Linked DNA regions of Homo sapiens: regions 1, 2, 4, 5 and 6 are each linked to region 3. Evidence: promoter capture Hi-C in human tissues and cell types (Jung and others, 2019). All regions are on one chromosome and are shown on one strand. The core of a region is centred on a gene start or on the middle of the fragment in contact, and the rest is flanking DNA. Distances in the headings are between cores, read along the strand shown.

Evidence for each region. The method cuts DNA at HindIII sites, captures the fragments that hold promoters and counts their contacts. A contact is called where the count stands out against the background at its distance.
Region 1: a fragment that was not itself captured here is called in contact with the fragment with the promoter of SHPK in region 3 in 7 of the 25 tissues and cell types used here (H1 embryonic stem cells, IMR-90 fibroblasts, bladder and 4 more).
Region 2: a contact is called between the fragment with the promoter of CLUH here and the fragment with the promoter of SHPK in region 3, in 1 of the 25 tissues and cell types used here (dorsolateral prefrontal cortex).
Region 4: a contact is called between a fragment that was not itself captured here and the fragment with the promoter of SHPK in region 3, in 2 of the 25 tissues and cell types used here (dorsolateral prefrontal cortex and heart right ventricle).
Region 5: a fragment that was not itself captured here is called in contact with the fragment with the promoter of SHPK in region 3 in 1 of the 25 tissues and cell types used here (dorsolateral prefrontal cortex).
Region 6: a fragment that was not itself captured here is called in contact with the fragment with the promoter of SHPK in region 3 in 1 of the 25 tissues and cell types used here (spleen).

What each region holds. Positions count from the first base shown.
Region 1 is chr17:3,085,939-3,090,624 of GRCh38, reverse strand. OR1D2 (olfactory receptor family 1 subfamily D member 2) reads left to right here. Exons shown (of 2, transcript NM_002548.3): 2 at 1-2,141. Among named protein-coding and RNA genes, the nearest start is that of OR1D2, 16 kb to the left of the region's middle. The HindIII fragment of the contact is 7,207 bases long and covers 1-4,686 here.
Region 2 is chr17:2,709,612-2,714,474 of GRCh38, reverse strand. CLUH (CLUH binding protein of NUMT mRNA) reads left to right here and starts at 2,711. Exons shown (of 26, transcript NM_001366661.1): 1 at 2,711-2,913. The coding sequence starts at 2,814. It overlaps LOC105371592 (a long non-coding RNA gene), which reads right to left and starts at 2,166. Exons shown (of 2, transcript NR_136412.1): 1 at 2,076-2,166; 2 at 1,642-1,993. RefSeq lists enhancers at 1,446-2,341, 2,342-3,238, 4,073-4,152 and silencers at 2,403-2,582, 2,713-2,832. The HindIII fragment of the contact is 23,363 bases long and covers 1-4,863 here.
Region 3 is chr17:3,632,744-3,637,555 of GRCh38, reverse strand. SHPK (sedoheptulokinase) reads left to right here and starts at 1,306. Exons shown (of 7, transcript NM_013276.4): 1 at 1,306-1,504. The coding sequence starts at 1,337. CTNS (cystinosin, lysosomal cystine transporter) reads right to left here and starts at 796. Exons shown (of 12, transcript NM_004937.3): 1 at 725-796; 2 at 240-449. RefSeq lists silencers at 431-520, 1,531-1,590 and enhancers at 801-1,050, 2,889-3,754. The HindIII fragment of the contact is 13,000 bases long and covers 1-3,725 here.
Region 4 is chr17:3,006,725-3,011,380 of GRCh38, reverse strand. RAP1GAP2 (RAP1 GTPase activating protein 2) reads right to left here. Exons shown (of 25, transcript NM_015085.5): 17 at 3,236-3,370. Among named protein-coding and RNA genes, the nearest start is that of RAP1GAP2-AS1, 43 kb to the right of the region's middle. RefSeq lists an enhancer at 101-602. The HindIII fragment of the contact is 3,655 bases long and covers 1,288-4,656 here.
Region 5 is chr17:3,025,147-3,029,466 of GRCh38, reverse strand. It overlaps RAP1GAP2 (RAP1 GTPase activating protein 2), which reads right to left. Exons shown (of 25, transcript NM_015085.5): 20 at 3,346-3,459; 21 at 3,003-3,117; 22 at 2,397-2,523. Among named protein-coding and RNA genes, the nearest start is that of OR1D5, 36 kb to the left of the region's middle. The HindIII fragment of the contact is 3,985 bases long and covers 1-3,253 here.
Region 6 is chr17:2,785,743-2,790,397 of GRCh38, reverse strand. It overlaps a transcript of RAP1GAP2 not described here. Among named protein-coding and RNA genes, the nearest start is that of RAP1GAP2, 8.4 kb to the left of the region's middle. The HindIII fragment of the contact is 6,818 bases long and covers 1-4,655 here.

The sequences.
Region 1 (4,686 bases), core at 2,067-4,566, 550 kb after region 3:
AGTTCCTATCAAATTGGACTTTCCCTATCAAAACCAGCCTGTAAAGACTAAAAGAGATGACTGCTTCTTCAAATGTGCAAACACAAATGTGAAGCTACAGGAAACACAAGGAATCAAGGAAACTTAGCAAAGCCAAAGGAACAAAATAAAGCTTCAGAAACCATCAAAGAAATGGAGAAATATGAACTGCCTGACAAAGAATTCAAGTGATCATTTGAAGAAACATGGTGACCCACACAAAAACACAGGTAAACTACTAAACAAAATCAGGAAATCAATACATAAATAAAATGTAAATTTCAACAAACAGAAACCACAAAAAAGAAACAGTAATTCTGGAGCTAAATAATACAATGACTAAACTTTAAAAAACTCAAAAGAGCTTCAGCAGCAGATATGAAGAAACAGAAGAAAGAATTCACTACTCAAAAACAGGTCATTTGAAAGTACTAGTAAGAGAAACAAATGGAAAAAGAGTGAAGAAAGCCTATGGGACATATGGGACCCATCAAACAAATACACACATTACATAAGTATCAGAAGGAAAAGTGAAAGAAAAGGAGGCAGAAAACTTATTTTTCTAAAAATGGCTATTCACAGCAGCCACCACAGGCAGGAAAACAGAAACCTGAAAGTGCTGCTTGCTTTCTCAACAGGGAGACTTGCAGCCTGGAACAAGTTTTCAGCCCTGCTCACCAGCTACCCGGAAATAAACTCAGCACTGTTAGGGGTAGGGCACATTGGGAGTGACATGGCCACTTGGACAGCATGGGAGCTGGGTGAGGCCTATCACTGCTGGCTTTCCACCACTTCCCTGGCAACCTGTATGACACAGCAGAGGCAGCCATAATCCCCATGGGAACATAACTTCATTGGCCTGTTAACCACACCCCCATCCCTCACAGTGGCCACAGCAAGCCCCACCGAAGGAGAGTCGGAGCTCACACATGCCTAACCCTGCCCCAACCTAATGGTCTTTCTCTACGCACCCTGGTAGCCGAAGACAAAGGGCATAATCTCTTGGGAGCTCTATGGTCCCACTCACCACCTGAGAAACTGGAATACTTATCCAGGCCACCTTAGGGCAAGTTTGTATCCCCCCTATGCTACCACAGCTGGTGCACTCTTGAAAGGACCACCTCTTGGCTGGAGGCCAACTAGTACACTAAACAAAACTTCAACCAAGGACCATAGACTCCTAGATAAACACTTGGACCATGAGAGTTCACTTTACTCCACTGCTACCTCCACTGGACCAGGCACTGGTATCCATGCCTGAGGGACTGAAGACAGATCACATCACAGGACTCTTCACAGACACCCCCCAGTACCAGCTCAGAGCCCAGAAGCTCTGTTGGATGGCTAGACCAGCAGAGAAATAACAATCATTGCAGTTTGGCTCTCAGGAAGCCCCATCCCCAGGAGATGGGGTAGAGCCCCATATCAAGGGGGGATCCCATGGACAAAAACAATCTGATAAGTAGCCCTTGAGCCCCAGATCTTCCTTCTGACATAGTCTACCCAAATGAGAAGGAACCAGAAAAACAAATCTGGTAATATGACAAAACAAGGTTCTTTAACACCCTTGAAAGATCACACTAGCTCACCAGCAATGGATCCAAACCAAGAAGAAATCTCTGAATTGCCAGAAAAAGAATTCAGAAAGTTGAGTATTAAGCTAATCAAGGAGGTGCCCGAGAAAGGTGAAGTTCAACTTAAATTAAAAAAAAAAAAAGTAAGGGTGGAGACCACCCCTCATATTGTCTTATGCCCAATTTCTGCCTCCAAAGAAAGAAGTAAAAACTAAAAGGCAGAAATGAAATCTAAAGGCAGACAGCCTGTCACCACGCCCTGGGCCTGGTAGTTAAAGATCGACCCCTGACCTAACTGGTTATGTTATCTATAGATTACAGACATTGTATGGAAAAGCATTGTAAAAATCCCTGTCCTGTTCTGTTTTGTTCTGATTACTGGTGCATGCAGCCCCCAGTCACGTACCCCCTGCTTGCTCAATTGATCATGACTCTCTCACGCAGACCCCCTTAGAGTTGTGAGCCCTTAAAAGGGACAGGAATTGCTCACTGGGGGAGCTCAGCTCTTGAGACAGGAGTCTTGCCGATGCTCCTGGCCAAATAAACCCCTTCCTTCTTTAACTTGGTGTCTGAGGAGTTTGGTCTGCAGCTCTTCCTGCTAAAAAAGATACAGGATATGAAGGATATGAAAGCAAAAATCTTCAGTGAAATAGATAGCATAAATAAAAAACAATCACAACTTCTGGAAATGAAAGACATATTTAGAGAGATGTAAAATGCACTGGAAAGTCCCAGCAATAGAAACAAACAAGTAGCAGAAAGAACTTCAGAGTTCAAAGACAAGGCTTTCAAAAGCCCAACCCATCAAAGACAAAGAAAACAGAATTTTAAAAAATGAACAAAGCCTCCAAGAAGATTGTGATTATGTAAAATGGCCAAACCTAAGAATGACTGGTGTTCCCAAGGAAGAAGAGGAATCTGAAAGTTTTGAAAACATATTTGAGGGAATAATTGAGGAAAGCTTCCCTGGCCTTGTGAGACATTTAGACATCCAAATGCAAGAAGCTGAAAGAACAACTGGGAAATTCATCACAAAAAGATCATCACCTAGGCACATAGACATCAGGTTATCCAAAGTCAAGATGAAGGGAAGAATCTTAAGAGCTGTGAGGCAAAAGCATCAGGTAACGTATAAAGAAAAACCTATCAGGTTAATGGCAGATTTCTCAGCAGAAACCCTACAAGCTAGAAGGGATTAGGGTCCTATCTTTAGCCTCCTTAAACAAAACAATTACCAGCCAAGAATTTTGTATCCCATGAAACTAAGCTTCATAAATGAAGGAGAGATAGTCTTTTTCAGACAAACAAATGCTGAGAGAATTCGGCACTACCAAGCCAGCACTACAAGAACTTGTAAAAGGAGCTCTAAATCTTGAATCAAACCCTTGACATACACCAAAATAGAACCTCCTTCAGGCATGAATCTCACAGGACCTATAAAACAATAACAAAATGGAAAAATAAAACAAGCTCTTCAGGCCATCAATTAGCATGACAAATAGAATAGTAGCTCATATCTCAATAGTAATGTTGAATGTAAATGGCCTAAACACTCCACTTAAAAGATACAGAATGGTAGAATGGATAAGAATTCACCAACCTAGTACCTGCCATCCCCAAGAGACTCAGCTAACACATAAGGACTCACATAAACTTAAGGCAAAGAGGTAGAAAAAGATATTCCATACAAATGGTCACCAAAGCAAGCAGGAGTAGCTATTCTTAGACGAAACAGACATTAAACCCACAACAGTTAAAAAAGACAAAGACGGACACTACATAATGATAACAGGACTAGTACAAAAGGAAAACATCACAATCCTAAATATATATGCACCTAACACTGGAGCTGCCAAATTTATAAAACATTTACTACTAGACCTAAGAAATGAGATAGACAACAGCACAATAATAGTGGGGGATTCCATACTCCACTGTTAGCACTAGACATATCATCAAGACAGAAAGTCAACAAAGAAACAATGGACTTAAACTATATCCTAGAACAAATGAACTTAACAGATATTTATAGAACATTCTACCCAACAATTGCAGAATATGCATTCTACTTATCAGCACACGAAACATTCTCAAAGATAGACCATATCATGGGCCACAAAACAAGTCTCAATCAATTTAAGAAAATTGAAATTATATCAAGTACTCTCTCAGACCACACTGGAATAAAATTGGAAATCAACTCCTAAAGGAACCCACAAAACCATCCAAATACATGGAAATTAAATAACCTGCTCCTGAATGATTGTTGGGTCAACAACAAAATCAACAGGAAAACTTAAAAATTCTTTGAAATGAATGATAATAGGGACACAACCTATCAAAATCTCTGGAATACAGCAAAAGTAGTACTAAGAGAAAAGTTCACAGTATTATTACATTAAGAATTCTAAAAGAGCACAAATAGACAACCTAAGGTCACACCTCACGGAACTAGAGAAACAAGAACAAACCAAACCCAAACCCAGCAGACAAAGAGAAATAACAAAGATCAGAGGAGAACTGAAGGAAATTGAAAAATAAAAATAAAAATCATAAATGAAACAAGAAGCTGGTTCTTTGACAAGGTAAAAAAAAACTGATAGACCATTGGCAAGATTAACAAAGAAAATAAGAGAAAATTCAAATAAGCTCAATTAGAAAAACGTGGGAGATATTACAACTGATACCACAGAAATACAAAACATTATTCAAGGCTACTATGAATACCTTCATGCACACAAGCTGAAAAACCTACAGGAGATGGATAAATTCCTGAAAATGTACAACCCCCCTAGATTAAACTAGGAAGATATAGAAACTCTGAACAGACCAATAAGCAGCGATATTGAAATGATAATGAAAAAAATGACAACAAAATAAAGTCCAGGACCAGACAGATTCACAGTTGAATTGGTACCAATCCTATTGACACTATTACACAGGATAGAGAAAGAGGGAATTCTCCCTAAATCATTCTATGAAGCCAGTATCACTCTAATACCAAAACAAGGAAAGGACATCACAAAAAAAGAAAACTACAGACTAATATCTCTGATAAACATAGGTGCAAAAATCCTCAACAAAATACTAGCTA
Region 2 (4,863 bases), core at 1,462-3,961, 920 kb after region 3:
ACTATGATGAAAAGACTTTGGTGGAAGCTGTGTGAAAGCAAGAATCAGTCTGCTTAATGTGTGGTCAGAGGTCAGACCACCAGACTATGGAGAATGTGATCAGAGGATGATTTTTTTTTCTTTTCTTTTCTTTCTTTGCTTTCTTTTTTTTTTTGAGACAGGGTCTTGCTCTGTCGCCCAGGCTGGAGTGCAGTGGCGAGATCCTGCAGCCTCAACCTCTTGGGCTCAAGTGATCCTCCTACCTCAGCCTCCTGAGTAGCAGGGACTATAGGCGCACACCACCACACCCAGCTAATTTTTGTATTTTTTGTAGAGATGAGGTTTTGCCATATTGCCCAGGCTGGTGTCCAACTCCTGAGCTCATACAATCTGCTCTCCTCGGCCTCTCAAAGTGTTGGCATTACAGGCGTGAGCCGCCGCACTCGGCTGGATGATGCTTTTTATACGTGTCTGTTTCTCTAACCCCAGGCTTGCTGCTCTTCCCCAACCCCCAGGGTTAAAACTGAGCTTCCTATTATGAGTAGCATTAGCAACATGCACGGGCTTCCAACTTCAGCTGCACTGGGCCACTAGGCACAATTCTCAAAAACCCTGGAGTTTCATGAATACAAACTAAGTACCCATCAGTCAGGTGACCGGCTAAAAGAATTATGGTACAACCAAACAATACAACATTATCCAGCGTAAATGGAATGAGAACACCTACTGAAAGCGTGTAAAAAAAAAATCAGAGTGAAGAATAGCAGGTACAATTTTCTGCACATTTGTGTAACAAAAGAGGAACGAGTGTGTGTATACACATACGTATATACACACGCACACATAAGTATGTATGTGTATATATACACACATATATACACACTTTTATATATATTGATTATAAATATATATATTTTATATATACACTTATATATATACACACTATATATATACACACACTATATATATACACACTATATATACACACTATATATATATACACACACTATATATATATATGCACACTTTTTTTTTCTTTTTTTGAGACGGAGTTTCTCTCTTGTTGCCCAAGCTGGAGTGCAATGGCGCGATCTCGGCTCACCGCAACCTCCACCTCCTGGGTTCAAGCGATTCTTCTGCCTCAGCCACCCGAGTAGCTGGGACTACAGGCGCACACCACCATGCGCAGCTAATTTTTGTATTTTTAGTAGAGACGGGGTTTCACCATCTTGGCCAGGCTGGTCTCTAATTCCTGACCTCGTGATCCGCCCGCCTCTGCCTCCCAAAGTGCTGGAATTACAGGCGTGAGCCACCGCGCCCGGCTTTTTTTTTTTTTTTTTTTTTGAGACGGTGTCTGTGTCACCCAGGCAGGAGTGCAGTGGTGCGATCATAGCTCACTGCAGCTTGGAACTCCTGGGCTCAATCTGAGCCGTCCTGAGTGATACTCCCAGCTCAGCTCCCAAGTAGCTGGGACTACAGGCGCGTGCCACTACACCTGGCTTTTTTTAAACAATATTTTTTGTAGAGACGGGGGTTTTGAAATGTTGCCCAGGTTGGTCTCAAACTTCCGAATCCTGAACTCAAGTCATCCGCCTGGCTTCGGCCTCCCAAAGTGCTAGGATTACAGGCGTGAGCCGCTGCACCGCCCGGCCGAGAAGAATCTTACCAGTTCTCATCTTCCTTCCTCCCGTTTAAATGCTCACATCAAGTCGCTGGCTTTCCTCACCACGTGCTCTCCAGAACAAGGTCGGCTTTCCTTCGCAATTTGTGCGAGGCCCTACCTAAGGCCCTCCCAGCCCACCTCGGGAAGCTGAAGCTTTCCAGTTCTCATTAGAGCTTGACAAACGCTCCGAAGGTTATAGGCCTCGGGTGCTTCCCAAAGGCCCCCTGCGGCCTGGCCAGGAAAGACCCACCGGCGCTCTCTGCCTGGAGCACTTCAACTCACTGCAAGACCTGGTCCCAATGTCCCCTCTGCAGCATTCTCTGACCTCACCGTTCCGTCCCCGCCAAGCCCCTGCCAAGTGAAAAATACGAGTTAAAGCGTCCTGGCTGTGGATGGAGTCAGACCCGGCTCTACCCCTTGCTCTCTGTGTGACCTTGGTCTCGGCCTCCTCCACTGTAAAATGAGGACACCAGCCTGGAGGTGAGGACCCATGGGTCGAGGACGCGGGTAGGGAGCCCGTTCTGGCTCGGGGCAAAGTTTGGCGGGTCCATTCTGACTCTTGATCCCCATTAGCCACGTCTCGCCCTCGCCTCTCGTGCCCGTGCCCTAAGCGACCCTCCACTCCCTCAATAATCCAGCCGCACCCATTCGGCGGGAAAGGGCCTGCCGGGTGGGGAGGGCGCTGAGGGTCACGCGAACACCGCAGATGACAGACTGCGCGGTCATTTAGCAAATCTGCAAGAGAAAACAGGGGATCCTTGGAGAGGGGAGGATTAGCCATGGCAGAACCAGACCAGTCTCCACCCAAGGTCACAGTGCCCGCCCGACGGGCAGCGAGCAGCAGGGAGTCTCCCCGAGGCCCCGCCCCGCGAGGGCGCCCAGCCTCCCTGGGCCTTGAGTCAGAGTGCGTTGCCTTTAAGACGTTCTGGAAAGTCACCGCGTCCGTGGGCGGGGAACCAGGCGCGGCGCGTTTTGTCCCTCGCGGGCCGCCGTGGGCTGGGCCGGGCGCGAGGGTGGGGCAGGGAAACGGCGGCGGGGTCAAAGGCCACGGCGCGCACCACGTGGGCCGGTGACTCCGTCCTTCCCTCAGCAGCCGCGGCGCGCAGGGCACTTGGGTTAGTGGCGCGGCGGGCGGCGCGGACAGCCGAGGCGGACGCCCGCTCCCGCCACCATGGTTATCAAGACGGACGAGTTGCCGGCGGCCGCCCCGGCCGACAGCGCCCGGGAACACGGCTCGCAGGCCGGGGGCAAGGGGCGGCCGGGCGCGGCCGGTGAGCGGGGCCAGGGCCAGCGGGCCGCTGGGCGGGGGGCGCCGGACCAGGGCGGGCGGGTTCGGGACTCCGCGGGGATCGCCGCCTTCCCTCCGCGTCGGGCCCGGTTGTATCTCGCTGGGGCCTTCACCGGGTCGCCCCCGCGCTGAAGGTCACCTTCACAGTCGCCCCCGGCTGCGGCCCGGGTTTCGCACGTGCGGTCCCGTGGAGGGCAGCCTCGGCTGGCACCCTCGGCGGGCACACGCGCGCCTCATCGCGGGGACACGTGCGCGCACACGCGGTTTCGGGGTGCGCCGCCGCCGCAGACCGAAAGAATCGGCGGCCCCACCCCCTCTGCGCCCGAGCATGGGAGCTCTCTGAGCTGGGGTCGCTCCGACGTTTGCGGGACAGCCCCCTTCGGCACCTGCTCCGCGGCGGCCTCCCAGGCATCCCCTGTGCGCAGGGCTGCAGCCCTGGGAGTGAAGCTCCGCTCGAGGCTTCCCAGGCTTGGTTTGTGGGAAGAGCACGAGGTGCGGGGTGTGCGTTGTGAGGGGCGTCCCTGGTTCATGCCCTGAGGCCAGGCTATAACCGCAGGTCTTCAGGCTGTGGCGGAGACTCTCAGGTGTGTTGGCCTGCTCGGCCGACCTGGTGTAGGGGGCGTCTGCCTTTGCATGGGGCAGAGCCAAACTCCTTGGCAGGGGGAAGTGTTTGTGCCAGAACTTGATCATTAACCTGCCTTATTGCGAAAAGTGGGTCAGACCAGAGTTGCTGTTTTTAAGGCAAAGGTCGTTAGTGTGGAGTCAAGCTCCCAGCGATCCCCCATGGGGGCTGTATGGTGGTGACTGTGGCAGTGGCTGCAGCTTGTCTCGGGTGGGGCCTGCTTTCCCTTTCTCCTGAGCCCCTTCTCTTCCTTCTGTTCCCTCCACCGTGTCTCAGACTCCAGCCTTGGGGCTGGAATCCCCTTCCCAGGCCCTCAGTCGTCATCTTCCTCAGGCCCTCTTTGCTCTGGGTGGCAGTGGAGGTGCAGAGCTACTCCTGTCCCCCAGTCCCTCCCTCCTCCGTCGACTGTCCTCAGTTGGGACTTGTGGTCTTAACGCCTCATCATCTCCCTTCCTAGCTTCAGTGAGTGCGCCAGGGCTGACTTGGGAATCAGGATGGGGACAGCGTTCAGCCCTCTGACCCTGTTCCCATCATAGCGGAGTTGCCTTGGGGTGAGGGACAGGTGCTGGGGCAGTACTGCTGATTGTCTAGACAAGGCCAAGGTTTGGGCAGAAGAGCAGATGCTCATCGCCCCAACCTACCAGGCTTTGTGCTGATGTGGCTCTGAATCAGTGGGGGCAGGCTGGATGAGAGGAGGTTGGCTGATTTCCCCTCTAGCAGAGACCCGAAGAGTCGAAGTGACTTGCCCAAGGTCACACAGCGATTTAGCTGTTAAGGGAAGTGTTTGGATTCCAGCTCATGGCCAGCAAGCCAAGGCTGCCGTGGCCTGGCCCAGAGGAAGCTGGGACAGGCGTGTTGGTTTGGATCCCGTGCTGAGAACTAGGGGGCTGACGAGCGTCTGTTGGAGGATTTCTGTGAGGGAGTCAGTGAAGCCCCTTCCTAACTCTGCTGGGGGTGGGGGGGCTCTGTCGGGGGTAAACTGAGTCAGGGAAGGGCACAGCTATTTGTTTTGGGGAAACTGGGAGCATACTCGTGGGCAGGACATGGGCTCCTACGTCCCTGGGAAGGTAGTACAGCTAGCTAGGACTTACGTTACAGCCAGCCCGGATCTATTGAAAGAAGGAAGGAGCCTTAATGAAGACCCCCCAGCTGGGGCCCACCTGAGCATCAGAACCAAGGCTTCTGACCTCTGAGATCCAGCTCTGGAAGGCTCTTCAGCCCCCTTAGGAAGGAGCTGATCTAGGCCATTGAGGGTCGGGGGCAAGGGTTGGTTACCTTCCTGGGAATACAGCGGCTTTTAGGGGTTAAGAG
Region 3 (4,812 bases), core at 57-2,556:
GGCGGAGGTTGCAGTGAGCCGAGATCGCGCCACTGCACTCCAGCCTGGGTGACAGAGGCTGCAGACTCCATCTCAAAAAAAAAAAAAAAATTGGCTTGGGGTGGTAGTGAAGAAATCTAGCTATTACAATGGTTTGTGGCCACAGAAACAAATACACAGCGTACTAGTGGTATTAAATTTTATGGGAAGGGGGTAGGTAGGAATAACGAGGTTGAGAAACAAGGATATAAAGTGGTTACCTCTGTTGCTTAGGGCGCCTAGCGAGCTCTCACAAAACACAGTAATCCTCAATGTTACTGGAAGAGGCAGAGCTCAGGAGTCCTCCCTTCGCCCAGTGTGAAAACCCGGAGGGGAGGATGGGGTCTCGTGCTGCTCAGTCCCCCGGAGCCCCGCACTCCGCACGTCAACCGGCGCTCTCGCAAAGGTTCTCTCAGCGTCTCCAAAGCAATCTGCAAATTCCCCAACCGAGACCCAGGCGGCAACTGAGCAGAAGGTAAGGGGCTGGGAACGGCACCCACCCCGGCAGCCCGCTGCCCCTGCCTCGGCTGACCACCGCTCGGGCCCTTCCACCCGGGGGTTGTCCCGTGTCGCGAGGCCAGCACTGGTGGCGGGGAAAGGAGCCCGCCGCGGCTGAGGGCGCTGGACCCCCGGCAGGCTGCCCCGCTGACCTGCTGTGCCTCAAGGGGTCCGCCTGGGAAACAGGGGAGGCCGCGTCCGCTCTCACCTGAGCGCCCCCAGGCTCGAGGAACCGCCCTCACGGGACGCATGAGCCTCGCCAGGTGCCGGTCAGGAATGCACCGCGTTCCCCTGCCCGGCTAGACTTTGGGAGAGGCGGGTCCGCTGTCACCTGACCTCCGCCACCTGACTCGTGGGGCCGGATCTCGGCGAGATGAGCTCTGGGAGTTGTAGTTTCCGCGCGTCTTAGACGGACAGAGCGCAGCTGGGTCGGGCCGGGGCGCAGAGATCGGGGCTCCGGCGTGAGGGAAGATGAGGTCCGCTGCCAGGGACACAGAGACTCTTGGAGCCGCCAGCGCCTCCCGGCTCCTTTCGTGAGCGAAGCTCAGACCGCCCTCCATTGGGCGGAAATCAGAGCCCGTGGGGCGGGGCCCCCTTTAGGTCCCGCCTTCCGCCGCCTCTCCGCCTATAGCCGGGGCCCGCCGAGAGGTTGCGTGGAAGCTCGCCTTCCCCGGCCAGTGGGAAGACGAGAAGCCTCCATGTTGGGTGTGGCTGAAAGATTGGCAGGCGACTCCCCGCCCCTGCCCCGCCCCCCTGGGCGAAGAGCGCGGACTTGTGGGGCCGCTGGCTGCAGACTGGAGCTGCGCGGGTCAGGGAGATAATGGCTGCGCGGCCGATCACCCTCGGCATTGACCTGGGCACCACATCTGTGAAGGCAGCTCTGCTGAGGGCCGCGCCCGACGACCCATCCGGGTTCGCAGTGCTGGCGAGCTGTGCCCGTGCTGCGCGGGCAGAGGCGGCGGTCGAGAGCGCGGTGGCCGGGCCCCAGGTGAGTTGGACCCCCGGGGCCGCGCCGCCTCCAGGAGCCTCCTGACCACCCTTTTCCACCCCAGGAGGCCTCCCTGACAGCCCTTCCCGCAATGAAGTCTCTATTCCAGCTTGTCCCCAGCTTCTCCAGGGGCCCGTCTGCCTGCAGCAGCTGTGCTCATGATCCCTTAGGTCTGGTCCCAGAATCCTTCCCACCTGCTGGGACCGATTCCCCCCCGCCCCCTCCCCGACTCTCTGGCTTCTTCTGGGGGCCTTGCGCTTGGCGCTGGATCCCTGTGCTCTCTGTCCCCTGACCTTGGAGGAACTGATCTCTTGTGTGTATGGAATGACCACAGGCCTCCCTTTCACTCTTGCTGCTCTCCGCTCCTCACACCTGCCCTGTGACCTCAAGTTCAGGATTCAGTTTGTTGCCCAGGGCAGAGTCTGGGTTTTCCTCCGGAAATCAGATGTCAAATCAGGCCTAACTGGCTCCTGGCTCATTCCACAGAAGCAGAATGCGGACCAAGAAACCTTTGGTCAGCCGGGCGCGGTGGCTCACGCCTGTAATCCCAGCGCTTTGGGAGGCCGAGGCGGGCGGATCACGAGGTCAGGAGATCGAGACCATCCTGGCTAACACGGTGAAACCCCGTCTGTACTAAAAATACAAAAAATTAGCGGGGCGTGGTGGCGGGCGCCTGTAGTCCCAGCTACTCGGGAGGCTGAGGCAGGAGAATGGCGCGAACCCGGGAGGCGGAGCTTGCAGTGAGTCGAGATCGCTCCGTTGCACTCCAGCCTGGGTGACAGAGCGAGACTCCTTCCCTTCCTTCCCTTCCTTCCTTCCTTCCTTCCTTCCTTCCTTCCTTCCTTCCTTCCTTCCTTCATTCTTTCCTTTCTTTCTCTTTCTTACCAAGTCTCGCTCTGTTGCCCAGGCTGGAGTACAGTGGCGTGATCTGGGCTCACTGCAACCTCCGCCAACTGGATTCAAGTGATTCTCCTGCTTCAGCCTCCCGAGTAGCTGGGACTACAGGTGTGAGCCACCGCGCCCGGCTACTTTTTGTATTTTTAGTAGAGACAGGGTTTCGCCATGTTCGCCAGACTGGTCTTGAACTCCTGACCTCAAGTGATCTGCCCACTTCAGCCTCCCAAAGTGCTAGGATTACAGTTGTGAGTCACTGCGCCTGGCCCAGCTTTGTTTTTCACAAGCTCTTGCCACATACATGGACACGGTTGTTTAGGGTTCAGAGCCCATTTGGCTCAGAAGCATTTCTGAGGATAGGGATTTCAGGAGCACTTTGTATCTACATAGAAGCTTTCAAGATTAGTTTGGTTGGGACATTAGGGCATATTAAAAGGATTCTTACTTAAAGGACTATGAATTGGAGGCAAAGTTGGCTCTGACCCTGGTGGGGTGAGCAGGAGAGCTGGCATTAGGGGAGAGTAGGCTCAGAAAGTGCCAGTTTCTCCTGAAATAGAGCACTTCTTTTTTTTTTTTTTTTTTTTTTGAGACAGGGTCTCGCTCTGTCACCCAGGCTGGAGTGCAGTGGTGCAATCTCTGCTCACTGAAACCTCTGCCTCCCGGGTTCAAGTGATTTTCGTGCCTCAGTTTCCCGAGTAGCTGGGATTACAGGTGTGCGCCACCATGCTTGGAGAATTTTTTTGTATTTTTGGTAGAGATGGGGTTTCACCATGTTGGCAAGGCTGGTCTCAAACTCCTGACCTCAACTGATCTGCCTGCCTCGGTTTCCCAAAGTGCTGGGATTACAGGTGTGAGCCACCGCACCCAGCATGGCCACTTTTTTTTTTTTTTTAATTGATCACTCTTGGGTGTTTCTCGCAGAGGGGGATTTGGCAGGGTCATAGGACAATAGTGGAGGGAAGGACAGCAGATAAACAAGTGAACAAAGGTCTCTGGTTTTCCTAGGCAGAGGACCCTGCGGCCTTCCGCAGTGTTTGTGTCCCTGGGTACTTGAGATTAGGGAGTGGTGATGACTCTTAACGGGCATGCTGCCTTCAAGCATCTGTTTAACAAAGCACATCTTGCACCGCCCTTAATCCATTTAACCCTGAGTGGACACAGCACATGTTTGAGAGAGCACAGGGTTGGGGGTAAGGTCACAGATCAACAGGATCCCAAGGCAGAAGAATTTTTCTTAGTACGGAACAAAATGAAAAGTCTCCCATGTCTACTTCTTTCTACACAGACACAGCAACCATCCGATTTCTCAATCTTTTCCCCACCTTTCCCCCTTTTCTATTCCACAAAACCGCCATTGTCATCATGGCCCATTCTCAATGAGCTGTTGGGTACACTACCCAGACGGGGTGGTGGCCGGGCAGAGGGGCTCCTCACTTCCCAGTAGGGGCGGCAGCACGGCCACTTCTTGAAAACTTTTCTGCCCTCCCTCCCCAGCTTTCAGCAGGCTGTTCTGTGCTTACAGGCTCACCCAGTGTGTCACACCTATTTAATGAAGTGCTTAGCGGAGGCCAGTCATTAACCCCCCCACACCACATATGAATCGTGCTCTGGGACAAACAGCACTGCTGTGAGTTAGTCTATATAGCAGGGTTTCTCAACCTTGGTGCTGCTGACATTTTGGGCTGCATAGTTTTTGTTGTGTGAGGGGTGTCCTGCATGTTGTAGAATGTTTAGCAACATCTCTGGCCCACTAGATGCCAGCCACGCTTGCCCCTCTTCCCCAGATGTGACAACCAAAAATGTCTCCATGTTGCCAAATGTTCCCTAGGTGACAAGACCACCCCGAGTAGGAACCAGTGATCTATAGTCATATCTGTGGCCGGGCGCGGTGGCTCTTGCCTGTAATCCCAGCACTTTGGGAGGCGGAGGTGGGTGGATCACTTGAGGTCAGGAGTTCGAGACCAGCCTGGCCAACATGGTGAAACCCTGTCTCTACTACAAAATAACAAAAATTAGCCGGGCGTGGTGATGCGTGCTTGTAATCCCAGCTACTTGGGAGGCTGAGGCAGGAGAATTGCTTGAACTCGGGAGGCAGAGGTTGCAGTGAGCCCAGATCATACCACTGCACTCCAGCCTGGGCAACAGAGTAAGACTCTGTCTCCAAAAAAAAAAAAAAAAAAAAAAAAGTAATATCTGCTGGCTGTGTTCTTTCCTCAAGTTCATACTTTTCACTCATAAGTATTAGCTATACCAGGGTCAAGCTTGGCAGCTGTGCAGACAATCAGTTTTTGGTATTTGCCCATTTAAAATACAAGGTTTTCGAGGGCAGTTCTGTGACCCTTTCACAGTTTATATTTATTTTTCCTCTCTGGGCATCAGTTTCCTCCGCTGTAAAAAGAGGCCTGAGGAGTAGG
Region 4 (4,656 bases), core at 1,866-4,365, 630 kb after region 3:
AATCCACCCCAGGCCCCAGGGCTCCATTCGGCTGAGCCTGGCCTGTCCCCAGCTCAGGCCTCCATGCTTGGGAGATGTGAGGGCAATGACGAAAGGGACAGGGAACAGGAGCTCGTGCTCCCCAGGTGGGAGGGAAAAAAGCTGGTCACAAATGGCCGGGCGCGGTGGCTCACACCTGTAATCCCAGCACTTTGTGAGGCTGAGGTGGGCGGATCACCTGAGGTCAGGAGTTCGAGACCAGCCTGGCCAACATGGTGAAACCTCGTCTCTACTAAAAATACAAAAAGTTAGCCGGGCGTGGTGGCGGGCACCTATAATTCTAGCTACTCAGGAGGCTGAGGTAGGATAATCACTTGAACCCGGGAGGCAGAGGTTGCAGTGAGCCAAGATTGCACCACTGCACTCCAGCCTGGGTGACAAAGCAAGACCCTGCCTCAAAAAAAATTAAAAAATAAAAAAATTTAAAAAAAATCTGGTCACAACCGTCAGGGCCCTGAAGCTTACTCTGTGTGACTGTCACAGTCTCTCCCACGCCCCACGGTGCTACCTCAGGTAGGTGTGAGAGCAGAATCTGGAAGCAGGCCTGTCTTCAACCTACAGTTGCAGGGTTTTAGTATTGAAAAGAATTCCCTGGATCACTGGATCAAAGATGAGTCGTGATAAAGTCTTAAAGTGTTTCCTCTCTTGTAAGCCCCTCTAGGAATACGTCAGACCCCCTCGAGTCAAGCACAGATCAACTGCGACTCCTGCCAGAGGCGGGGGACTGGACAGAGCGGCCTCAGGCCACTCTCTTTATACCTGCCACCTGTATTTAGCTGCTGGACCACCTCCTCCATTGGGCACCATGGGCAGAGTGTCCACAGCCTACAAGCATCTCCAGGATATAGAAATACTTGAAACCTGAAAAACCAATTAACTCCAAAATACTACAAGAAACCTGCAAAACTCAAAACAAGTGCTTCATTAAATGTCTACAAAATACAACATTATGTTGGCTCCCCAACTGCAGCTCAACTTTTCTTTTTTTTTTTTTTTTTTTTTTTTGAGACAGTCTCGCCCTGTCTCCAGGCTGGAGTGCAGTGGCGTGATCTCGGCTCACTGCAACCTCCGCCTCCCGGGTTCACGTGATTCTCCTGCCTCAGCCTCCTGAGTAGCTGGGATTACAGGCTCACGTCACCACGCCCGGCTAATTTTTGTATTTTTAGTGGAGACGAGGTTTCACCATGTTGGCCAGGATGGTCTCGATCTCCTGACCTCGTGATCCGCCTGCCTCGGCCTCCCAAAGTGCTGGGATTACAGGCGTGAGGCACGGCACCTGGCCTCACCTCTTATAGTTCTGCATAAATTACATTTACTGAGGGATGCAGAATGTTTTGATACGTGGGCTATGGAGTGTGGTGGAGCCTCTGGAAGGAAGTCTAGAGCCTGTGGAAGGCTTAATGTGGTGCCCCCCTTCCTGCCTTCCCCAGACCCAAGCCCGTTTTCCTGTTTACCGCATCTCACACTCTCCATTCTCTCGCTGGGTTGTCTGACCTGGCGCCCTCTCTCCTCCCGTTCCTCTTCTTCTGCATCCCTCTTCCGTCTTGATCTCCCAATTTCTCCTATTTCACCCGGGCTCCCACTGTCCATCAGCACTGAAACAGGTGCCCCAGGAATCACCCACCAGCCTGGACAAGCAGCTCAGCTCCTTTTCCCAACCCCAAGAGGCATCTTGGCAGCTGGCCCCAACTAGGGTAGGAAGAGCTGTGCCCTGCTCTCTGCGGTCCAGCCGGGCAGTGGGGGACTGACCCCAGGCCTGCCCGGGCCCAGGCTAGTGCGGGTGGAATCTTAACAAAGTCAGGAAGTGGGAGGTGGTGTCGGATTTGGAATCCGGCGGACCTGGATTCAACTCCACCTGCTCCCACAAATGATTCTGTCTCTTTGAGGCTTGGTTTCCTCCCATATAATACTATGCCTATCATTATTAAAACTGAGTATGAACTATTATACCAAAATTATTACACCCCAAATAATAGCCTTCCTCACAGGGCACTGAGGGCAGTTGTGAATCTCCAGGTGGGATAATGTGTGTGAAGCTTTCACTTTATACAACTGTAATAACAGCTGACATTTTTGAGCATTTACTATATTCCAGGCAATCTGGACTTTTCCAGGCATGGTATCAATGAACTCGCACAATGGCTCTGACAGGGGTCCTGCTTCCTATCCTTATGTTGTTGACAAGAAAGCTGCACCTTAAGAGGCTTGAAAGACTGCCCAGGATCCCACAGAGCTGCGGTTTTAATAGAGGTGGGTGTAGCCCTACACATAATTCCCCATAAAGTCCCACACATAATGCCCCCAGATGGGAGTTTCCAAATCACCTTCTAACAGGCAATCCAGCAGCACACGGACCTAAGAATCAGAAGACCTGCGTTTGAAATGAGGCTCTAACTCTGCCTCGGTGTAAGGACCTGAGCAGGCCTGTGGCGTCTCTCATCCTGTCCCCACGTGTGTTCGTGAATATAACAAGACCCGTTCCGCCACCTGCACAGGCTGACAGCCAGGCTCGAGCCAGATGCTGGGTCTACGTGCTGCGTGGACCAACAAGCACTCAGCAAGCATAAGATGAAAAACCTCTACCACACGCCAGCTCGGGGGCCGTCCGAGCTCCACTTGAATACTTCCAGGGACAGGGAGCTCACTGCTTCCTTTAGCAGCTCCTTCTAGTTAGTTTTTTTCCCTTGGCAAAGTCCAAAGGGACTTGCCTATAGTTCCATGGCCCCTGCCCAGCCAGGTCTTCCAATGCTCGGCCGGCTGGCTAGGAAGAATCACTGTGGCACCCACAGCAGCTACGAAGACCCGTAAGGGCTGTGGTCCTCGCTCCTGCCATTCTGCCCTGGGCTCCCCAACCCAGGAGGAGGCAGGTGAAAGCGCCGATGTTCCTGGCTTGCTCCAGCTCCTCTCCTACTGCTACCTCTTTACCTGTCCCTGCTTAACAGACTTCTGGGCCCGGAGGAGATGACCCAGATAGAGGAAGGATGGGGAGGCTGCTGAGAAAACTGCTGGCTGCTCCAGCCTCACACACTTCCTAACGGCCCTGCCCTTTGCAAACACCTAGGATACCCATACGTTTCCTGTCACCCCTCCAGCTGGCCCTTGGGCTCTGGGATCAGTATCCCATGGACCTTGGACCACTTCCTTTCTTCCCCAATCCCAACCCCACAGCAACCATCAGTCACTCTGACGCTCATACCTTAAAAGACTCCAGGAACCCCCCGTGGCCTCCATTCTCAAACTTGTCCTCCTCTGGGCCCAGTCCCAGCATGGCCTGTGTGTGGGCGTGGAGCTCATCGTGAAGGTTGTCCAGGAGGGCAGCCCTGGTCCGGTCCTAGAAGGGAAGAGGGTGGGGATGGAGAAGCTGGCTCTGAGAGCAGAGATGTGCCTGCTCCTTGTGAGCTCCAGACACCTGGCCTGGAGGCTGACATTCTGCCCAGCCCGGCCCAGCAACGGTGTGGACCTACTGCTGAGCTGAGCTTCGTGCTCACAAATGCTGCAGCTAAGATGAAGGCTGCGTGCTCGGCCTCCTGCTCTACTCCCCCTGCCCTTCTCCCTGGGTCGTCCCACCACTGCCACAGCTCCACCCTGGTGGTAGAGGAGCAGAAGGAAGAGTGAATCCCAGCCCGGCCCTCTGCCCCAGCTCCACATCCACGCACCCAACTCCCCACTGCTCCTCTCCATCCAGATGTTCGTCCAGAGCCATGCACATGGATGCCAGGGGCCGCTATTCACACAGATGAGGACTGGCCCTTTCAGCAACCCGGCCTTCGCAGGCACAACTTGGCCACCATGTCATCAAAGAGCCCAGGCCAAAGGCCCAAGAGTCACCCTACAATCAATCCCACGTCCCACAACACTTACAGCCAGGAGTCCACCAAGTCTTCCCAACCTTGACCCTAAACCATTTCCTTCCATACAGTATAAGCCTTTGTCATCTCTCCTGCATTCCTGTAAATAGCTTCTAACTGGCCGCCTTCCTGCACCTCTTGCCCTGCAACCTGTCCTTGTCACCATCGTTCTCAATGACACCACTGTCAGAGCAATCCCTCTGGCATACACATCGAGCCCCTCACTCTCCTGCCTAAGCGCTTTACCAGCAGCCCACCGTCCCGAGCTCAAAGCCCTTCTGGATCTGATCCAACCAACATCTCCGGCTGAGTCTCCACCATTCCAGCCCCCGTGGGTCCTTCAGCCACAGCAAACCCTCAGGAGCTCCCTCCTGACGTCAGGCTCTGGTTCTTCCTGACCTTTGCTCATGCTGTCTACCATGCCAGATCAGCCCTCCCTTCCCCACTCTTTCCTCCTGGCAGAAGGTTCATCTGATATCAAGATTCAGCTGTGCATGAGCCACCTCCTCCAGGAAGCCTTCCCTGAACACACCCTCTGTCCCCTACAGGCAGAAACAGTCACTATCTGAGCTGTGCTGACCTCCATCCCAGCCTAGTGCTGGCACACTGTACTATAACTATCTATTTAGTAATGACCCCCTGCCCCACCCCCCGACTACCCTGTGTACTCTCCAGGGATAGAAACTGTCTCACTTATCCCCATATCCCAGGGAACAGAATAGGGCCTGACACATAGTAGGTGCTTTAAAAATGACTGATTGGGCCAGGC
Region 5 (4,320 bases), core at 12-2,511, 610 kb after region 3:
ACCGGTTCCCAGATCCCCCCAAGCCCACCCTGATCCAGTGGGTACCAAGCACATCTTTCGTGGGCTGGGGGTGAAAAGCAGCCCATCGGGGTTAAATACTGTGTGGAGAAAAGGTGTGTAAGAGGCAGCCTCACCGTGTGGTGTGGGAAGCACCGGCCATAAGTCACCAGACCCGCTCCAGGTCCCTTCCGCCCTCGGTGACCTTCAGCAACCTGCAGAGACTCTCTAATTCCTTTACTCAAAACCTTCCTTACTTTGACGTTTATTTAACACCAAGTGGGGGCCAGGCTTGCTTACAGATTCTTTCATTCATTCCTTCAATATTTAAGTCTTATTTAGAAAACAAAACAAAACAAAACAAAAACACCAGGTCAGGCGCGGTGGCTCACGCCTGTAATCCCAGCACTTTGGGAGGCCGAGGTGGGTGGATCACGAGGTCAGGAGTTCGAGACCAGCCTGGCCAACATGGTGAAACTGTGTCTCTACTAAAAATAAAAAAATTAGCCGGGCATGTGGCACATGCCTGTAATCCCAGCTACTTGGAAGGCTGAGGCAGGTGAATCACTTGAACCTGGGAGGCGGAGGTTGCAGTGAGCCGAGATTGCGCCATTGCACTCCAGCCTGGGTGGCAGAGTGAGACTCCATCTCGAAAAAAAATCAGGGAATTTGTATTTCCACCCCCTTTTACAGATGAGGAAACTGAGGCTCAGAGACGTGGACCTGTCAATGCTACAACCAGGATTTGAACCCAGCTCCGCAGCTGCCCAACCACAGGGGGCTGAATGAGAGGAGGCACGTGAACTCTTCCACTCACTGAGAAACACGCATGCAAAGGGTCACTGGCTGTGGAATCACGATCTTCCCTTCATCTCTGACCCTGCAGGTTCCCTTTGCAACATCCCTTCGCTGTGTGAACCCCAGGAACATTTTGGCTTCAGCCACCCTGAAGGCCTGTTGGCCCTTCCTGTGTTTCTACCATTGAGACTAGAGTTTTTCAACCGAATGTCATTTGGGGTCAGAGAATTATTTGTCTGATGTGGCTAGGGGGCTGTCCTGTACATTGCTTATCAGCTTCCGTGACCTCTGCCCACTAGATGCCAGTAGCACCCCTCCAAAATTGTGAAAATTAAAAATGTCGCCAGACATTGCCAGACATCCATGGGGTAGCAAGACTGCCCCCGGCTCAGAACCGCTGACTACACTATTGTCTCATTCCCATTCTTTAACCAACACCGAGGTTAACAGTTCCAGGCCTCGTACAAGCATGAGCTCCTTTCATCTTCATACAACCAACCCTCTGAGGCAGACACGACTCTTCCCCTCCCTTCATTTTCTGCTTGGAGAAACTGAGGCACAGACAGGCTTGGTGACTCGCCCAATGACATGTCTAGTAAGCAGCAGACCCAGGATTTGGACCCAGGCTCAAAGTCCTGTGCTGCCCTCACGAGGGCAGAGACCCGGAGCACCCGCCCAGCAGTGCCCACCGCACAGGTCTACCTGAACGGCCCTCAGGTGCTGGCCCCCCTATTCTGACCAACTGCAGGGATCACAGAACCCCAAAACGCCCAGACTCCTGCTCTCTCTGAACCCCTGCTACTGAGCCCGTACATTTTACCTCCTTGATCTCTCCTGAACCGAGGTGCTTCTGCCGCAGCTCCCCTCCCCTCCTCTCCCCTCCCCTCCATCCCTCCCCTCTGCTCCTGCTCTCTACTAATCCATTCTACACTCAGCAGCTGCAGCAGCCAAAATGGACTTTCTCAACTCCAGATGGTGCTTCCCTACTTAAGAACCTTCAAACACTCCAACAGTGGCCGCTAGCAGAACAAAATCCTCACCCGGGGCCCGGGGCTGACCCAGCCTGTCAACGCTCCGGCCTCTCTGACGCCTGGCTCTGTGAACCCAGCTGCCATGAACACGTGCAGTTCCGGAATACCCGCTCTCTCCTCTCCTCTGGGCCTTTCCACATGCTGTTCCCTCCCCCTGCAGCCCTTCCCCCGTCTTGTATTATCAAGACCCCCGACATGACAGACGGGCCCTGGCAGCCCTGGAGCGCTGGCAGGTGGGGAGAAGGGTTGGAGCACTGGCAGGTGGGGAGAAGGGCTAATGGAAAGTGCTCAGCTTTCCCACTGCCAATCCCGACTCCTCCGCTGTGGGATCTCCCACAAGGCCTTCAACTCTCTGCCTCAGCTTCACAACTCTCAGTGTAAGAAGAGCTTAGGAACTTGGGCATCTTAAGGCTGATGAACAGAAGAGGCGGGCGCACAGAGCGGAGGGCCTCACAGCTGGGAGGAGGGGTGAAAACTGGCCAGTTCAGCGTGGCTGGGGCCCTGCTAACAGTGGACAGGGCACAGCCTGCCCTCCTGGTGACGTCACACACACCACCAGATGCCACTGACCTGTGGGACTCCGGCTCATGATGATCGGGGTGGCAGCTGCCCCCAGGCTGGGGCTCTCGCTGCTCGGGGACGGGCTGTAGACAAACACCTCCTGCTTGAAGGGTGAGGTCGTGGACGGCTGGCTGCCCTGAGGAGAGAGGCAGGGTGAGCGAGGCCAGCCCACCCTCGGCAGCTGCGCCCACGCAGGCCTGAGGCAGCCCCCAAAAGCCCAGGACAGCCGCTGCCTCCTGCTCCCCACTTGGGCCTGCTCTTTCTTTCCTGCTGACTTCAACCCTGGTTCCAAGCTATCCTGCTCCAAGAAGGACCTTTGACCCAGCCCCCTGGGGCACTGGCCACTCACCACTCCAGCCAGGAACCCCAAGGCAGGGCACCATCGGGTCTGGCCCCTGCCCTCTGCTGCTGCTATGTCACTCTGAGAGAGAGGTCCCCTCACCCACTGCGCCCAGGGGGTGGTGATGGCCAACGAGCCCACCTCTCGTTTCCATTCTTCCCCTTTCCTCTGCAAAGACTGACATGGGCTTCGATCCACAGTGCCGTTTTAATGCAAGGAGGGTGGCTGGCTGACGCCCCAGAGTGCCTGCCCAAGGGTGGACGGGGCACACCTACCCCACTGTCGCCCTCCTCCATGGCCTCGCCCTCCCCTGCAGTGCTGCTGACGCTGCTGGTGCTGGAGGAGGAGCGGGAGATGGCACGGCCGTTTTCCTTCAACTTCATGAAGGGCCTGCAGGGAATAGGAAGTGAGGCCAGCCCGGGTCACACGCGAGAGCCCTCCACCCCCAGGGTCCTCCCCGGGACCTCTGGCGGCTCCCCACGCCCCCACCCGTCGGCCTTTGTGTTCTGGAGAGTTCCAGAGGCAGGAGATGGCCACTCTCAGCTGGCCAGGAGGCAGAGGGCGTGTTCCAGGGCTCCACGTGGCCGAAGCTGGCCTTTCCCACCCTCACTCTCTTACTTCTCCTTGTTGGGGCAGATTTCCGGAGAGCTGGGATTGGATGAGGTCTCAGACTTTATCTCCTGAGAGGAGTGTCCACCATCTGGGGTCTTGGGTGTGCTGGATGTGCTGTCACTGAGGGAATGGAAATGAGGAGTGAGGCCGCGGAGACAGCCCTCAACCCCCACCCCATCCACGGCCCCAGGCAGAGCCTCTCTCGGCACGGTGAGGGGCAGTGGGGTCAGAGCGCCCCCGCCTGGCATCACTGCCTGGATGTCCTTTCCCACCTGAGCCCCCCAGAGATGGCGGCATACTACAGGGTTTCCCGGTCCCTACAACAGGGACTATTCTAGGTTCATGGTGAAGTCCAGAGCTGCCAAGCAGGAGTCCTGGCTTGACGGCCTCTAGCCCAGATCTCTCTCACCCAAGCTGGCCATCACACCTGGCGGAGTTGTGGGTCAAGAGAGGGCCCCGTGGGGAATGGAGCAGGGAATATGGCAGAGTCTATGACATCCGCCCCCACCGCAGGAACCACCCAATACACATGGACTCCTGGGAAGTCCCGGGGGGCCATCCTTCATATAGACTAGAATACGAGCTCCTGGTCCCACATGAGGAGGCTGCCCTGGGAGCTGGGAAGCAAGGGGTACTCTCAGCCAACAATATCCTTCTCCTTTAGTGTAACAAAGACCATGGACAGTGCCCACAGTGCTCCCTGTGCTGGCTGTTGGGGATGGGATGGCCGTGTCCTCAATGCACTTTTTTTGAGACTGAGTCTCGCTCTGTTGCCCAGGCTGGAGTGCAGTGGTGCGATCTTGGATTGCTGCAACCTCCGCCTCCCAGGTTCAAGTGATTCTCCTGCCTCAGCCTCCCAAGCAGCTGGGATTACAGGCGTATACCACCATGGCCAGCTAATTTTTGTACTTTTAGTAGAGATGGGGTTTCATTGCATTGGCCAAGCTGGTCTCGAACTCCTGACCTCAAGTCATCTGCCTG
Region 6 (4,655 bases), core at 691-3,190, 850 kb after region 3:
CCTGTAATCCCAGCGCTTTGGGATTACACCTGCCAAGGCGGGTGGATCACCTGAGGTCGGGAGTTTGAGACCAGCCTGACCAACATGGAGAAACCCCGTCTCTACTAAAAATACAAAATTAGCTGGGTGTAGTGGCTCATGCCTGTAATCCCAGCTACTCGGGAGGCTGAGGCGGGAGAATTGCTTGAACCCAGGAGGTGGAGGTTGCAGTGAGCTGAGATCATGCCGCTGCACTCCAGCCTGGTGACAGAGGGAGACTCCATCTCAAAACCACCAAAAAAAAAAAAGGATGATGGAGAAAGATGCTGGTCTCCAGGGAAACAGGGCACAGTGGGCATTCAGGGCCAGCAACCCCACATTAGTGAAGAATTCACGCCTCAGGGTCAAGATAAAAACAGCACCTAGCATCTGCATAGTGATTTACAGTCCACAGATCACTGCCCACCTGCACTATCTCAAGGTCCAGACTAAATTTCCCATTGCACAAGTGCTGAAAAGCAAGATGATGGCAGATTGCAAAGGGAGGGCTTGTAAAAACTGAGTTCCAAGAGCAGGGCCCAGACATATACCACAATTGCACAATTTATTTATTTACTTTTTTTTTTTTTTTTTTTTTCAGATGGAGTCTCACTCTGTCGCCCAAGCTGGAGTGCACTGGTGCAATCTCGGCTCACTGCAGTCTCTGCCTCCCAGGTTCAAGCAATTCTCCTGCCTCAGCCTCCAGAGTAGCTAGGACTACCAGTACACGCCACCATGCCTGGCTAATGTTTTTTTTTTTTTTTTTTTTTTTAGTAGAGACTGTCTGTGAGTCGTTTCACCATGTTGGCCAGGCTGGTCTTGAACTCCTGACCTCAGGTGATCTGCCCGCCTCAGTTTCCCAAAATTATTGCAGTTTATTCTTATCTGTTCAGTAAGGTCCATCTGCCAAGAGAGTTTTAGCCACACATGGCTCTGAACTAAAGAAGCTACGAAGTTTACTACAGTTAAAAATTTTAAATAATAACAAGGTATCACTTTTACCCATCAGATAAAGTTTTAAAAATTTGATAATGCCGGCCACGGTGGCTCACACCTGTAATCCCAGCACTTTGGGAGGACAAGGCGGGTGGATCACCTGAGCTCAGGAGTTCGAGACCAGTGTGGGCAACATGGTGGAACCCCCATGTCTACAAAAAATACAAAAATTAGTGGGGCATGATGGCAGGCACCTGTAGTCCCAGCTACTTGGGAGGCTGAGGTGGGAGGATCACTTGAGCCCAGGAAGCAGAGCCATGATTGGGCCACTGCACTCCAGCCTGAGTGACAGAGCCCAGACCCCATCTCAAAAAGAAAAAATTGATAATTGTGTAAAGGTATAAGGAAACGGGCGTCCCATTAATGTGTAGCTATTGGGCAATATCTCTGTGCTGGTTAAATTTATGTGTCAATTTGACTGGGCTAGGGGATATCTCCATAGCTGTTGAAATATTATTTCTGGGTATGTCTGTGAGTTGTTTCTGGAAGAGATTAGCCTTTGAATTGGTAGACTAAGTAAAGAAGATGCCGCTTTACCAATGTGGGCCGGCATCAACCAATCCACTGAGAGCTTGAATAGACGAAAAATGTGGAGGAAAGGAGAGTTCATTCTCTGCCTGAGCTGAGAACCCGCCTTCTCCTGCCCTCAGCTATCAACGCTCCTCGTTCTTGTGCCTTAGGACTTGGACTAGAACATACCACCAGCTTTCCTGGATCCCCAGCTAATAGACGGCAAATCATGGGACTTCTCGGCCTCCAAAATTGCATTAACCTGATGGGGTGCAGTGGCTCATGCCTGGCTGGGGCTCAGTAATCCCAGCACTTTGGGAGGCCAAGGCAGGTGGATCACTTGAGGTCAGGAGTTCGAGACCAGTGTGATCAACATGGTGAAACCCACGTCTCTACTAAAAATACAAAAAAAAATCTGGGCATGGTGGCGGGCACCTGTAATCCCAGCTACTCAGGAGGCTGAGGCAGGAGAACTGCTTGAATCAGGGAGGTAGAGGTTGCAGTGAGCTGAGATTGTGCCACTGCACTCCTGCCTGGGCAACAGAGCCAGTCTCTATCTCAAAGCAAACAAACAAAAAAACCCCACAAAATTGCATGAACCAATCCCTCATAATAAATCTAAACACACACACACATACACACACACCCCTATATACATATGTATATATTTCCTATTAGTTCTATTTCTCTGCAAAGCCCTGACTAATACACTCTATCAAAATTGTTTAAGTGCACATACCCTTTATGCCAACAATTTTGTTTTTAGAAATTTATTGCACAGGTTAACTCATACCACTTGACAAGATCTATGTATACAGATGTTAATCATATCATTATAATAGCAAATTCAAAAAATAATCTAAATGATCATCAACTGAGGATTAACTACATTGCAGAATAAGCGTACAATGGAATACTATCTAGCCACTGAAAATAACGAGGTAGCACTTAATATATGTTAATATATGAAGATATGCTAAAAGTTCAAGTTTTAAAAAACAGGCACAGGCTGGGCGCGGTGGCTCATGCCTGTAATCCCAGTACTTTGGGAGGCCGAGGCGGGCAGATCACGAGGTCAGGAGATTGAAACCATCCTGGCCAACATGGTGAAACCCCATCTCTACTGAAAATACAAAAACTTAGCCAGGTGTGGCGGCATGCGCCTGTATTCCCAGCTACTCGGGAGGCTGAGGCAGGAGAATTGCGTGAACCTGGGAGAGGCAGCTTGCAGTGAGCTGAGATGGCGCCACTGCACTCCAGCCTGGGCGACAGAGCAAGACTCCATCTCAAAAAAAACAAAACAAAACAAAAAAACAGGCTCAGCGTGTGGTGACTCACACCTGTCATCCTAGCACTTTGGGAGGCCAAGGCAGGGGGATTGCTTGAGCCCAGGAGTTTGTGACCAGTCCCAGCAACATAGTAAGACCCCATCTGTACAAAAATTTTTTTAAATTAGCCAGGCATGGTGCTGTGCACCTGTATTCCCAGCTACCTAGAAGGCTGATGTGGAAGGATCACTTGAGCCCAGGAGGTTGGGGCTGCAGTAAAGACCACTGCACTCCAGTGTGGCCAAAAAGCAAGACTCTGTCTCGAAAAAAAAAAAGAAAAAAAAAAAAAAACCAAAGCTGGGCATGGTGGCTCACACCTGTAATCCCAGCACTTTGGAGGCCATGGTGGGGTGGATCACTTGAGGTCAGGAGTTCGAGACCAGCCTGGCCAACATGGTAAAACCCTGTCTCTACTAAAAACTACAAAACTAGCCAGGTATGGTGGCATGCGCCTATAACCCCAGCTATTTGGGAGGCTGGGGCAGGAGAATGGCTTGAACCCGGGAAGCGGAGGTTGCAGTGAGCAGAGATCGCGCCCCTGCGCACCAGCCTGGGGACAGAGCGAGACTCCATCTCAAAAAAAAAAAAAAAAAAAAAAAGGCTGGGAGCGATGGCTCACGCCTGTAATCCCAGCAGTTTGGGAAGCCAAGGTGGGTGGATCACTTGAGGTCAGGAGTTTGAGACCAGCCCTGCCAAGATGGTGAAACCCCGTCTCTACTAAACACTACAAAAATTAGCCGGGCATGGTGGCACCTGCCTGTAATCCCAGCTACTCAGGAGACTGGGGCAGGAGAGTCGCTTGAATCCGGGAGGCAGAGGGTGCAGTGAGCCCGAGACCACGCCACTGCACTCCAGCCTGGGCAACAGAGTGAGACTCCATCGCAAAACATTAAAAAAAAAAAAAATTGAAGAAAAAAAAAGAAAAGAAAGGCTTGGACCGTGGGGGCTGTCTGAAGGAGCTTCTCACTAAAGGAGAACACACAGCCAACTCTGCCCACACCCACCCAGCTGGGTCACTCCCGCCCTCCCCTGCTAAGGCGGGGCACCTGGCGCCTCCCAGGACCGGCCAGAAGGTGGGCGTTTGCGCCCTCTGCAGGCAAGCTTGGGTGGTGCGAGGAGGAAAGGGAGCGTCTTCCTGGGCTTGTTTCTAGGATGGCAGCCATGTTGCCCTCTGGCGGAAGGGGTTGAAGGGAGGGGGAAATCCTCCTCCTGCAAAAGATAAGCAACCACCACCTGGTGTCAGAACACACGGATTCCAGCCCCAGTCCTGACATTAAATGTAGCTGTGAGGAAACCACTTAAACTCCCTCTGCCTCAGGTTTTTCATCTGTAAAGAATAACTCCAGGCTGGGCGCGGTGGCTCACGCCTGTAATCCCAGCACTGTGGGAGGCCGAGGCGGACGGATCACCTGAGGTCAGGAGTTCGAGATCAGCCTGGCCAACATGGTGAAACCCCGTCTCTCCTAAAAATACAAAATTAGCCAGGCATGGTGGCACATGCCTGTAATCCCAGCTACGCAGGAGGCTGAGGCAGGAGAATCGCTTGAACCCGGGAGGTGGAGGTTGCGGTGAGCCGAGATCTGACCACTGCACTCCAGCCTGGGCAACAAGAGCAAATCTCTGTCTAAAAAAAAAAAAAAAAAAAAGTCATACTTTTTACTTCCTTTCATCTTTACCATACCACAGTCTCCCTCCTGGTAAGTAACTGGAGCCTCAGAGAGGTTAAGAGACTCGTCCAAGGTCACAGTGTAGCAGGACGAGCCACAGACAAAACTCCTCAGACACCGGATTAAAGAAGGAAGA